Linked DNA regions of Homo sapiens: regions 1, 2 and 4 are each linked to region 3. The links are contacts of gene promoters, found by promoter capture Hi-C in blood cells and fetal thymus (Javierre and others, 2016). All regions are on one chromosome and are shown on one strand. The core of a region is centred on a gene start or on the middle of the fragment in contact, and the rest is flanking DNA. Distances in the headings are between cores, read along the strand shown. Region 1 has its middle 72 kb from the start of RAPGEF1. Region 2 has its middle 90 kb from the start of RAPGEF1. Region 3 holds the start of NTNG2 (netrin G2). Region 4 overlaps MED27 (mediator complex subunit 27).

Region 1 (2,903 bases), core at 361-2,860, 350 kb before region 3:
TCCAGGCCCTCGAGGACTCAGTGCTGACCGTACCTGGAATGAATGAACATGTGCCAGGCGGGGGCAGGGGGATCTCATCACCAGAGCTGGTCACATACGGGCTTTCAGTCCCTCGCTCACACCACAGCTGGCCGGTTGCATGGGACAAGGCCCCGGGATTCCCTGAGGCTGAATGAGCTGGAGCTGCCGGAGGTGTGGGCAGGACGGAGGGTGGGTGGCCTGTGTGTCACTGGGATTAGGCTTCCTGGGCCATCACCTGCTTCTCCTAGGAGAGGGGTGACAGCGTGAGGCTCAGCAGGGCAAGTGCCACCCAGAGGCCAGATGCAGCAAAAGAGTAAGCAAAATCCCTTGAGGGTAGGGTGGGAAGAGTTGCTGTAAAACCTGTGCACTTTGCTCAGACAGGACTGTTACAGCTATGAGGAGAAACGAAGGTGTCTGCAGCCAGCCCGCAGCAGAGCAGACGAGCTCTTGAGCAGGCACCTGCTCCTGTTAGGGGTGGACCCTTGGTAGCAAAGAGACAACAGCTGTCAACAAAATAAATGAGGGCTGGATGTAGTGGCTCACACTGGTAATCCTAGCATTTTGGGAGGCTGAGGCGGGCAACATAGTGAATATTCATCTCTAAAACAAAACAAAACAGAACAAAACAAAAAAGGAGGTGGGTATGGGACCGTGCATTTTGGGGCCATTTAGTGCAGGAGAAGCACTGGGCAGAACATGTAGCTATTAATGAATGTGCTTATCATGTCAACGCCTCCCCACATGCAATAGCCCATAAATTCTGTTTTTCTTTTTTCTTTTTTTTTTTTTTGAGATGGAGTCCTGCTCTGTTGCCCAGGCTGGAGTGCAGTGGCACAATCTCAGCTCACTGCAACCTCTGGCTCTCAGGTTCAAGCGATTCTCCTGCCTCAGACTCCCAAGTAGCGGGGATTACAGTCTCCTGCCACCATGCCCAGCTAATGTTTTTGTATTTTTTAGTAGAGATAGGGTTTCACCATGTTGGCCAGGATGGTCTCGAACTCCTGACCTCAGGTGATCCGCCCGCCTTGGCCTCCAAAGTGCCGAGATTACAGGCATGAGCCACTGCGCCTGGCCAATTGCCAATAAATTCCAATGTTTTTAGGATCAGGCCCGCCATCCTCACCACGTTCCATCATAGCCTCATCTCATGCCTCCCTGTCTGGAGCCACTCTGACCTGGTTCCCGGAGCCCTCCGTGCTCTGCCTCCAACCCCGAGGGCCTTTGCACTCACAGTCCTTTCTGCACAGTGCTCTCTCCTCCCTTACCTCAGCTGCTGGCCTCTCTCTATGGACACCCTGGGGATCGGATGTCAACCCCAGCCCTCCCTGACCCCGGGGCCGGTCCACGCTGCTTCATCCTGGGTTGTCACCAATGCTCACCCCTTTCCCTCAGGGCGAGCTTTGAGCCTTGAATGCCACCCGGTCTCTCTAAGATTGCTTGATTCATGCCTCGTCTGCCCCACCTGACTGTAGGACCCACTGGAACAGGGATGTCGTCCCCCTTTGTCACTGTTTTACCCTGAGCCCAGCACAAGGCTTGGCTCATAGAGGCTCCCACGAAACTGTTCTCACCTGAGAGTGACCCCGAAAAGTTCAGGACACTGGCATGGAAAAGGCGACTGCTTCTCACGAGGCCAGAGTCCCTGACTTGGAATTCAGCAGTTTAGAGAGGGTTTCCAGACCCAGCCTGAATTCACATTTTCACTCTGGCGCCATTGGCTGGCTTAGCGGGGACCTTGAGAAAGCTGAGTTAGCTCTCCGAGCAGGTGTTGTCACCTATTCCTTGGACAGGGCAGGGGGAGGAGTCGCTGAGATGACACAGCACACAGAGCCCTTGGCACAGATCCTGGCACAGGGGGTGCTTAGTGGCCGGTGGTGGGGGAGGCAGGGCAGCGGTTCTGAGGCCTGGACACCTCTCATCTCTGGCTAGGGGTCAGGTGAGGAATTTTCCCTGGCTGCCCCAAAGCAGCAGCTGCCCGGAGCTGGCAGGGCGGGTGAGGCCCTGCAGAGACCTGGAAGGCGTTCGGGCCACGGGCTGCAGGCACGGTTGGCAGCAGCGGCTCCGCTCCAGCCTGGTGACCTCTGCGAGGAGCTGCCTCTGCTCCCCTCTGGCCACTCTCTGTCCACAGCCAGTACAGCCTTCAGGAAGAACGAGGAGGACTGGAGTCCCCACAGGACGTCAAGCCCTCCCTGTGCCCGGGCTGCCGGCACCTGCCCTGAGCTTCCGCAAGACTGCCCTTTTCCCCTCATCAGACCCCGATAAGATACCCAGCTGCACGTTAACCAGCCGCACTGTGTCCAGTGGCTCACAGCACTGGAGACTCAGTTTCCCCAACCCTCATCTGTAAAGTGGAGATAAGAATTCCTGCTGGATGCAACGAGAAGATGTTTATAAAATTGCCTGGCACAAAATAAGTCCTTAATAACGCTAGTTCCCTTCTCTGTTCCCTGTACCAGCTGCTTTTCCCCTGAAGTGCTCTGTCCCCTCCATTGTAGAAGCAGAAGTCTCTCCCTAGTTTTGGGAACGGATTTCAAACTCCTTCCCACAGAAGAGTTGAGGCACACAGTGGGTTCTCCCCAGTGGGAGGCGGTATTCATTAAAGAGTAGGCTTCGGCCAAAGATATCAGGCAATGATGGTGATATTTCAGGCATTGAGATTTTGAGGCTGGGGCTGCTCTGCCCGTGAGTCACTGGCCTCTGACAAAGGATGAGGTGGCAGGAGGAGGTAGCCAGACCATGCGATGAGGCGTTCAGTCCCAGCTTCTCCACTGCCTAGCGGTGTGACCTTGGCTGGGTCTCCTGACCTCTCTGAGCTTCCTGGTCTGTAACATGTGGGTAATAATCAGTGGTAATTCCCACCTCCCAGGGGTGTGCTGGGGATT
Region 2 (3,174 bases), core at 235-2,734, 330 kb before region 3:
CTCAACAGCCCGGTCTGCTCCTCCGTCCCTCCTCATCGATTGCAGGTTGAGTCCATCTTTGGTAACCAATCACCCAGGGGTTGGTAGGCATTTTTTTTTTTTTAATTTTCTGTATGAGGTTTAATTAAACCAAGGTGTGCCTGACCCTGTCAAATCATATAAAAAAAAGGCCTCTTTGCTGTATGAGGAAAAACATCAGCATAAATTATTGATTAATCCTCATTCAAACTAATCTATCAATGACTTTCTCTGGCTTGGTGGACCTGGGGAGCTCTTAGATGTTTCCATGCAAACGGCATCTGAAAGCTCCATTTCAAAGTGATCTGAGGCCCATTTAAAGCAGTCAGCAGCCAGTGGGAGCTGCCCCTGAAATTCTGAAGTGCGACCGTTCACTCTGGCCTCAGTTCAATGGTGCCTAGATGTGTCCTGTCTGGGCAGTGAGTTCCATCTGGTCCCTACGCCTGGGGGTGGGGAGTTCACAGTTCAGTGGGGGGCAGAGGAGATGACAAAGACAGACACATACAAAAGACATGCTGATATACTTTGGTGAGGGCTAGATACTGTATGATACAGGCATACTATGCACTGTATGATACAGGCATACAGTGCGTAAACCTCTAATCATACAGAAACCTCTTGTAATCATACAGAGGTCTAATGTTTAAACAGAATGGACGAAGAGAGCAGAGCAGCTTATGTGGATACATTTGAGAATTAAAGGAAATAGGCAAAGTATTTTAAAAACACAACTTACCAAAGCTGTCACAAGAAAAAAAAAACATATCCATTAAGGAAATTGAGCCCCAAATTAGGAACGATCGGGCAAAGAAAACTCCAGGCCTAGATGACTTCCCTGGTGAATTCCACCAAACACTGAAGGAAGAAAGGATCCCAGTCTTACATCAAATCTCCCAGAGAAGACAGAAAGCAGGAACACTGTCTAACTCATGTTATGAGTCTAGCAAAACTTTAATGCTAAATTCTGATGAAGACATTACAACAAAGAAACATCATGGGTCAACTCTTCCCATGAAAATGGATGTGAAAATCCTTAAAAAATATTAGCAAGTCAAATAAAACAATATCACAACCAAGTGGGATTTATTTCAAAATGCAAGGTTGGCTTAACAGTCAAAAATCAATCACATGGCCGGGCATAGTGGCTCATGCCTGTAATCCCAGCACTTTGGGAGGCTGAGGCGGGAGGATCACTAGAGGTCAGGAGTTTGAGACCAGCCTGGCCAACATGGTGAAACCCCGTCTCTACTATACAAAAAAATTAGCTGGGTGTGGTGGTAGATGCCTGTAATCCCAGCTACTTGGGAGGCTGAGGCAGGAGAATCGCTGGAACCTGGGAGGCGGAGGTTGTAGTGACCCAAGATCGCACCACTGCACTTCAGCCTGGGTGACAGAATGAGACTTTGTCTCAAAAAAGAAAAAAAAAAAAATCACAGACCAGGGTCAGAGGCTCACGCCTATAATCCTAACACTTTGGGAGGCCGAGGTGGGAGGATTGCTTGAACCCTCCAGGTTGGAGAGCAGCCTGGGAAACATAGTGAGACCCTGCCTTTACTAAAAATAAAAAAAAACTTAGCTGGACATGGTGGTGCACACCCATAGTCCTAGTTACTTGGGAGGCTGAGGCAGGAGAATCACTTGAGCCCAGGAGTTTGAGGCTGCAGTAAGCTGTGTTTATGCCACTGCACTCTAGTCTGGGTGATAGTGAGACCTTGTCTCAATAAAAAAATAAAAAACAAAAAACATAATAAAAAGAAAAATTGGCTAGGTGCAGTGGTTCACTCCTGTAACCCCAGAACTTTGGGAGGCTGAAGTGGGAGGATCAGTTGAGGCCAGGAGTTTAAGGCCAGTTTGGGCAACATAGTGAGATCTTGTCTCTATATAAAAAATTTAAAAAAAGAAAAATCATATGATCATCTTTATCGATGCAGAAAAATTATTTGATGGCGTAGGCATTTATTTAAAAAGATGTAGGCCGGGCGCAGTGGCTCACGCCTGTAATCCCAACAGTTTGGGAGGCCGAGGCGGGCGGATCACCTGAGGTCAGGAGTTTAAGACCAGCCTGGCCAACATGGTGAAACCCCATCTCTACTAAAAATACAAAAATTAGCCGAGCGTGGTGGAGGATGCCTGTAATCCCAGTTACTCTGGAGGCTGAGGCAGGAGAATTGCTTGAACCCAGGAGGTGGAGGTTGCAGTGAGCCAAGATTGTGCCACTGCACTCCAGCCTGGGCGACAGAGTAAGACTGTGTCCCAACCCCCCCAAAAAAGATGTAAACATATGCTTATTGACATTAAAAGAAGCTCATGATATGCCAGCAAGTAAAAGAGCCAGTCAGAAGATGGCATATAATATCATCCCATTTTCTTGTAATAAAAAAAATCTGTATCTGTCTCTGAAAGGGTTTACCTCAAAATAGTAATTGTGCTTATTATCTCTGGGTGCTGAAAAATTTTTATTTCTTCTTTGTATTATTCTTTATTTCTTGCTTTTTAAAATAGTGAACATGTATTATTGATGTAATAGTTTTTTAAAAACAACTTATTAAAAGAAGAACGTTATAGCCCATTTTTCTGCCCTGGAAATTCACTAGAGAAAAGCACGAAGAGAAATTCCAACAACTGACAGGGCTCTTATTTGTAGGCCACGGAAATAGTTTCCAGCTGATTTAAGCAGAAAATGAATTCATTCCAAGGGCACTGGGACTCCCAGAACCTCTGGAGGCCAGAGGACCCAGCTCGGAGCCCGTGAGGCTGGGAGGGAAGAATGGGCTCCAGCGGAAGTGGTTGGTGAAGACACCACTGCCATCGCTGCCCGGCCTGAGCTGTGTGGGGGTTTCTCCCCTCCGCTGCCACCAGGCAGCACCACCCCTCGGGCACCGCCATGTGCCTTGGTGTCCAGGGTCGCCACCCATCCCAGAACGGTTCCCCTCGGTCCCTGGTTCCCAGCACGTGCCTTGGTGGAGGCGGGGGCAGCGGCTGCCAATGGCCGTCTGGGATACATGTGCACATTGGCCACGTTTGGCTGTGACAGCAGAAGGCGGGCTCTGCCTCAGAAGGAGAGGTCTCCGCAGGCCCGGAAGTAGGTTCAGGAGCTGAATGACCAAACCACAGGACACCCTTGGCCCTTCTGCACTAAGACTAGCGTTGGCGAAC
Region 3 (2,912 bases), core at 221-2,720:
CCAGTTTTCAGGGCAGCTGAGAACAGGGAAGGGTTAAGGTGGAGGTGAAGGGTGGCAGCAGGGCGGGGCACTGAGGTGCCATGTCTTGCTCCATTCCCAACACCCTCTGTGACCTTGGGCTGGTCTCTCTCTCTCTGCCTCTCTCTCTGTCTGTCCTCAGGCCCTTTGTTCTTGATGCATCCAAATGACAGTGCTGGCTGCTCAAGGCTGCAGTGAGCCCACCCCAGGAGGCCAGGAGTGTCCGAAAACCACATGTGCTTCTGGAAGATGTGGAAACTCTCCCAGAAGCCCTGGGAGGCAGGCTGGCAGGAAACCTCCTGGGGATCAGAGAGCCCAGGGCTGCCGGATATGATATTGTGAACTCGGTGGCCTCTGCCCGGGGCTGCTGCTACCGGAGCCCTCCCACACCTGCCTCCCATGCTTGCAGGGGAGGGAGACAGAGAACCCCTCAGCCAGGCCCCTCCTGCCCCACTACTCTGCACTCCCTGCAGAGCTGGCTTGGCTTCGTCAAAAGCAGGGCCCATCAGGGTGGAGGCGGCGATGTGTCAGCTGGTATTCAGGCTCTGGTTGTGCGCTCAGATCGCTCCCCCTCCCCATCTCCCCAAATCCACCCACCCACCCCGGTACCCACTGCTTGGGGCCTTCTGGGTGGCAGCACTTCACAGAGAGAGACCGAGGAGCAGCCCTGAGCCCTTGGCTGTGGGGGGTGGGGGAACTGACTCACTTGGCCCCCCTCCCTCGTGCCGATGGGGCAGCCCCCACACCCATGGGCGCTGGCACCCCGGCAGGCCCCCGGGTTTTGGAAGAGGAAGCTGCAGCCCGGCTGCGCCTGACCGGAGCCGGCTGAGGATGCGCTCTGGGCGCAGGGACCCGCTGGCCCCCGGGCCGGGAGGCGATGTTTAGGCAGCGACCCCCCAGAGGCTGCCGGGGCCACCCTGGCCACGGGCCCGCCGGGACGCCCCTGCTCGCCGCGCCCCTCCCCGGGCCGTGGCGCGTCCCCCGAGCCGCGCAATATTTCCTTCCTGCACCTTTAAGAAGACCGTTGCTCCGTGGTGGGATGGTGTGTTAAAGCCACACAGAGGAAGTTACGCAGCCCGGATCAGACCGAGAGATAAAAGCCCCGATGGTGATCGTGAGTGATGGCAAGAGGATTTAGCCTCGGCATTAACTTGGAGCGGAGTGCAGGGGGGCAGTGAAGCGCCCGCCATCTGGCCCGCGCCGCGCCGGGGGGATGCCCCGGCTCCCCGACGAGACGCCGCGAAGCCCACCCGGGCCGGGGGCTGCCCGGCGCCCGAGCGCGGGTCCTCCCCGGGCCGCCCAGGGGGGCCAAAAAGTTTGCACTTGTTAGCGGCGACCTCCCGCTCAGCCCGGGCGGGCGATGCGGGCGGCGCGGGCGGCCCCCTCCCCCGGCCCGCGTCTCCGGGACGGCTGCGGGCGGCCCCCCCGGCGGCCGGAGGGCTCCCTGGCCCCGATCTGACGGCGGCGGCGGCGGCGGCCACAGCGGCGGGAGCGGCGCGGGGAAGGAGCAGCGGCTCGCAGCCCTCGGCCCGCGCCCCCACCCAGCGCCAGCCCGAGGGGGGAGGCGCAGCGCCGGAGGGTGGCGGTCCTCGGCCCTCCCAGGTCTCCGCGCCGGGAAGCCGCTCCGAGCCGGGGTAAGGCGGGCGGGGAGAGCCCGGGAGGCGGGCGGGGGGAGAGGCTGCAGCTTGGCCAGGCCGGTTTCATTTTTAAAGGGCTTCGGTGACCATGCAGGCTTGCCCGGGCCCGGGAGCCACTTACAGCGGCCCGGCAAAGGCTCGGATGCAAAAGTTGTTTGGTGGCGGCTGCTACGAGCTGAGAACTGGAGTCGCCCCAGAGGGGTGTGTGAGGGTGCGTTCTTAGCAGCATCTTAAAGGGGTAGCTTGTCTTTCTGGCCAGCTTCCCCCGGGTCCTTTCCGTCGTGTGTGTGAGAGTGTGTGTGTGTGTGTGTGTGAGAGAGAGACAGAGTGTGTGTGTGTGTGTGTGTGTGTGTGTGTGTGTGTGTGTGTGTGTGTCGGGGAGGGATGTTGCAAGGATGCTCGGATGTGTCTCGGAAAAGGAAACTAACCCTGCTCCCGCGCCTCTCCCCCACCCCAATTCCACCGCCACCGCTTAGAGCCACCCCCATCCCGTGCCCTCCCATCTCTCTGCAAACTGGGAGCCTGTGAGTTGCACAGAGAAACTCCCGGCCAGTCCGGCTGGAAACTTCTCCCGGCGCCGGGAGGGGGTCGGGAGGTGAGGGGGCGCAGGCACTGGTTTGGGGCCGGCGTGGAGTCGAACCTGGAACTGAGCGGCGCGCAGGTGGGGGGAGCAGAGGCGGCGGGAAGGCGGGAAGAGAGGACCGCGGGCTCGCGGGGTCCGCCCGCTCCGGAGTAAGTTGGCCGTCTGGGCTGGGGGCGGCGGCGGCCGGGTCGCCACAGGCGGCAGCGCCGGGGCAAAGGATACAGCCAGTTCCTGGGCGCCCTGCTCTGTGTCTTTTAATTAAGAGAGGCAGTGCCGAAAAAGGGGGCGCCTCAGTCCCGGCCGGGCCTTTATTACGGGCTTAATTATTAATTGCTGCCGTGGCTTGCACGCAACTTTGGGAAGACGAAAAGCAGCTGCGGGGCTGCCGGGTCGTCGGTGTCCTAGGCACAGGGCTCGCAGCCGGCCCGAAGCACTGACTCGACCCTGGCCCCGGCCTCGACCCCGCCCGCGGCCCGCCGGGACCCACCCGGGAGCTGCTGCTCGCGCCCCGCCTCCCGCGCCCAACTTTCCAGGGCTCCCGCGGGCGGGGACCCAGGGGCCGGATAAAGGGCCCGCTCCGGAGCGGGGGGACACCCGGGCCGCCGGAATTAAGAGGCCCGCCGAGGCTACAGTGAGCGCGGGGCGCCCGCTGGACCCCGCCCGGGGCAGAGGAC
Region 4 (3,320 bases), core at 498-2,997, 290 kb before region 3:
ATATTTTTTTGTTTTACATTTTTCAACAACAAAGTTGTTTTTTTGCTCAGCATCCAAGACTTGGAAAAAACAGGCCTGGGGCAAAAAAAAAAAAAAAATCTGCTATTAACTAATTTAAATCCACTCTGTGGCAGCCGAGGTTCGGTCCCATTGTGCGGCAAAGCTAATGAGATTCCGCTGGGAGATAAAAGCCGCCCTCCCCCTTGGCGGAGGCCAGGAAGGGCACTAATGCTCCCAAGGAGAGGGAGGCGATTCACCCACCAGTGAGTGCAGGTTTGAAAAAAGGCTTGTAAAAACATCAAAGGGATGCAAGCCCAAGGAAAGGGAGGGAGGAGAAGGCAGGAGGGTAGCAATAAACCAGTGAGGCAGGGGTCCCTGAAGCAAGAGGAATGCGGGGATGGGGAGACAGGCCTCACAAAGAGGGGCAGAGGGTGATGCAGGGAGGGGTTTCACTGGGAGGCGCCTGGTTCACCCCAAGGCAGAGAAGTCTCAGATGCCTCATTTGGGGTGTGTCCCGTCTCAATGGTGACCTGCAGTGATTTACTTTGAGAAGGGTGACATCTCCATTGCCTGCCAACAGATCCAGTCCACTTGATCAATGTTCCTTTCAGTTTTCCCTACCCTCTCTCAGCATATCCAAACCCAGGAGAGAATGGAGCTTAGGGAGGGAGTAGGGACTCTTTCAAGAGACCTTGAAACAGCTGCCAGTCAACGTGCTGGAAAAGGAGATGCCAGTCAAAACAGTCTCCCAAAGCTCCTCTGCCATATTGTGTGCATGGAGCTCCTGACAGCCCCCCTCCTACAATCAGAGCTGGAGGGTGCTTTGGAGATCATGAGTTATTTTAGCTAAACCCAGAGTGGCACTGCTTGCAATAACAGCAACAACCCACATCGCCATTTACTGAGCACTAATCCTGTGCAAGAGCTGGTCTACGCTGCACAGCTCAGGGTGTGTGGCTCCTCCAACAGGAGCCCAGCCTCTGGATCTGTCCCTTGTGAGCTGTGTGACCTTGGGCGAGGATTAAATGGGCCGATGCAGGGACAGTGCACTGACATACAGACCTCAAGTGTACGACGCATGGCAAGCGCCCGCCAAATGTGTCCCCTCGTGGTTTTAGCCCGCTGAATCCCCACGATGACCTTATGACAGAGGTACTCTCACGTTTGGGACTTCTAAGTCAGGGGGCTAAGTCACAGGGAGGTTAAGTGACTTGCCCAAGCCAAGGAGCTGCTAGGTGGCACAGCAGGAGTTTGTTCCGACCTTCTGAACCCCAGCTTGAGTGCCCAGACTCTATGCCCCAAGCCTCATGGGCCCCCCACTCCAGGCCTCTTGGGGTGGACAGGGGTTGTGGGGGGATGAAGAAAAGTGCCATTTCCAGGCCCTCTCCTCCCCAGAAGGGACTGGACCTCAGCACTTTGAGGGTGGAGATGGGATTGGATAACAAGTCTCCTCACTTACACCCCAGTTCCTGTCACTTATACAATGTTCCTTCCACCTCTCAGCCAGAAGCTTCAACCTGTCTGGCTCCCTGCTATGTGCTGGCCCCAACCCTCCAAACGGTCTGACAGAGACACCGGTGGGCCCTCAAGAAGACCTCCAGATTGAATGAGTCTCCCTGCTGTGGACAAAGAAGGGGAAATCGGGCAAATACAAGGCGGCTGCATCAGGTGGGCATGCCCACACATTCATCGAGGGAATGAAAAAGTGTAGTGTGAGAAAAGGTGCAGGGCGGGGAGAGTGGGATGGTCCTACTGTGGACCCCAGATTCAGTGTGCATCCCACTGTGTGCCCGGGATTCAGTGTGCATCCTACTGTGAGCCCTGGATCCAGGTGTGCGTCCTGCTGTACGCCCCGGATTCGGTGCTCACCCTACCATACACCCCACATTCGGTATGCAGCACCCACACGCTTTTTCCTACTCAGGCCCTCTCCTGCGGTGGGGGCAAAGATAACAGGTTTAGGCCTAGCAAGATGATTTCTCACTTAAGCTTAACTCCCAGATTCCAGGTTTTATGTTGACCAGATAGAGGTTTGTTCTGTAGCAGTAAGGGAAGAATAAAGGACACTGTAATGACACAGAAAGGACTGGGGAGAAAAACCCTCTTAATACACTATTGTCCTCAGCAGTTTCCTCTTTAAAAAGCAAGGGCCTGTTGGGCTCCTTGAAGGGGAAAAGTTAAGAAGATGGCAATGCCAGTCACCAGCCTGGTACAGGAACAACGGCACCATTCACAGCAAGACCCTTGTCCTCTGTTTCAGGGGTGACCTTGTACTTGTCACCCATGCTGGAGTGTGGTGGTCTGATCACAGCACACCGCAGCCTCGAACTCCTGGGCGCAAGTGATCCTCCTGCCTCAGTCTCTCAAATAGCTGGGACTACAGACACACACCCCCACGCCTGGCTAGTTTTTTAATTTTTAGTAAAGACGAGGTCTTGCCATGTTGTCCAAGCTGGTCTTGAACTCCTAGGCTCAAATGATCCTCCTGCCTCCCAAAGTGCTGGGGTTATGGGCCAACCTTGCACCTCTTTCCTATCTTTTTTCCTCCGAATTTTCTGAATACTTTCAACTTGGGGTATTTGATTTGATTTAAATGGAAACTTACAGTTCCTGCCAGGCATTCTAAAACAGGGGCCCTTGTATTTCTCAGTGATCCAGGGATTGTCCTCAGGGGCTCCCGAGTGCCCAAAGGTCATGGGCATCATCTGGCCCCAGGGGGCATGCTCCTGGGCCGGAGTGGAGGCTGGCGACGCAGCATGCAGGTGAGGAACAGACGCTGGAGGCTGACTGCTGGGAACCGCCTTCCAGCTCCTGGCTGGTGGACCAGGCTGGGGACCAGGACCCAGGAGTTCACAGGCTCCCTGAGATGATTTTGGGTGCAGGTTCAAGGGCCGCTGCGGGCCACTGCCTGCTTCCCACCACCAGGGGACAGGACTGTGGCCGAGCAGCGCCTGGGGGAGCTGAGCTTGAACAGAGACGCTCTTCCTAACGCACCTGCTGAGGGCATTATCTGCCAGCACACAGCCCCCGAGGCCAAGCTAGAAGAGCGGGCGCCTCTACTATTCGGAGTATTTCCTCACAAGATTAGTAAACAGGGAAAGTTAAGTACTCAAGTGTTTAGAAGTTGCTTATTTAAAAGAGAAGCCTGGTAGGGACCCAGACTGTGGCTTCCCTCCAGCCAATATCGGCTTCTACGTACTGTGAAGAGAAGATTCTCTTAGATCTGGGTGAAAGTGACAAAAAGGCAGACAGAGGGGAACCGTAAGGAGACCGGGGTTTGACCCTAGCTTAGTGGCGAATGGCCTGGGGGGCCTCTTCCC

The links. Contacts are between HindIII fragments. The CHiCAGO score rates a contact against its expected background, and 5 or more counts as called.
Region 1: a contact is called between a fragment that was not itself captured here and the fragment with the promoter of NTNG2 in region 3, in 4 of 17 cell types (endothelial precursors, M1 macrophages, M2 macrophages and 1 more). The highest score is 8.4, in endothelial precursors.
Region 2: a contact is called between a fragment that was not itself captured here and the fragment with the promoter of NTNG2 in region 3, in 4 of 17 cell types (endothelial precursors, M1 macrophages, M2 macrophages and 1 more). The highest score is 7.2, in endothelial precursors.
Region 4: a fragment that was not itself captured here is called in contact with the fragment with the promoter of NTNG2 in region 3 in 1 of 17 cell types (endothelial precursors); the score reaches 6.6 in endothelial precursors.

What each region holds. Positions count from the first base shown.
Region 1 is chr9:131,810,502-131,813,404 of GRCh38, forward strand. No RefSeq gene overlaps it. Among named protein-coding and RNA genes, the nearest start is that of RAPGEF1, 72 kb to the left of the region's middle. The HindIII fragment of the contact is 6,192 bases long and covers 1-2,903 here.
Region 2 is chr9:131,828,636-131,831,809 of GRCh38, forward strand. No RefSeq gene overlaps it. Among named protein-coding and RNA genes, the nearest start is that of RAPGEF1, 90 kb to the left of the region's middle. The HindIII fragment of the contact is 6,586 bases long and covers 1-3,174 here.
Region 3 is chr9:132,160,588-132,163,499 of GRCh38, forward strand. NTNG2 (netrin G2) reads left to right here and starts at 1,471. Exons shown (of 8, transcript NM_032536.4): 1 at 1,471-1,652. It overlaps LOC124902291 (a long non-coding RNA gene), which reads right to left and starts at 1,113. Exons shown (of 2, transcript XR_007061826.1): 1 at 1,029-1,113; 2 at 1-16. The HindIII fragment of the contact is 8,295 bases long and covers 1-2,912 here.
Region 4 is chr9:131,869,310-131,872,629 of GRCh38, forward strand. All of the region lies in intron 6 of MED27 (mediator complex subunit 27), which reads right to left. Among named protein-coding and RNA genes, the nearest start is that of RAPGEF1, 130 kb to the left of the region's middle. The HindIII fragment of the contact is 479 bases long and covers 1,509-1,987 here.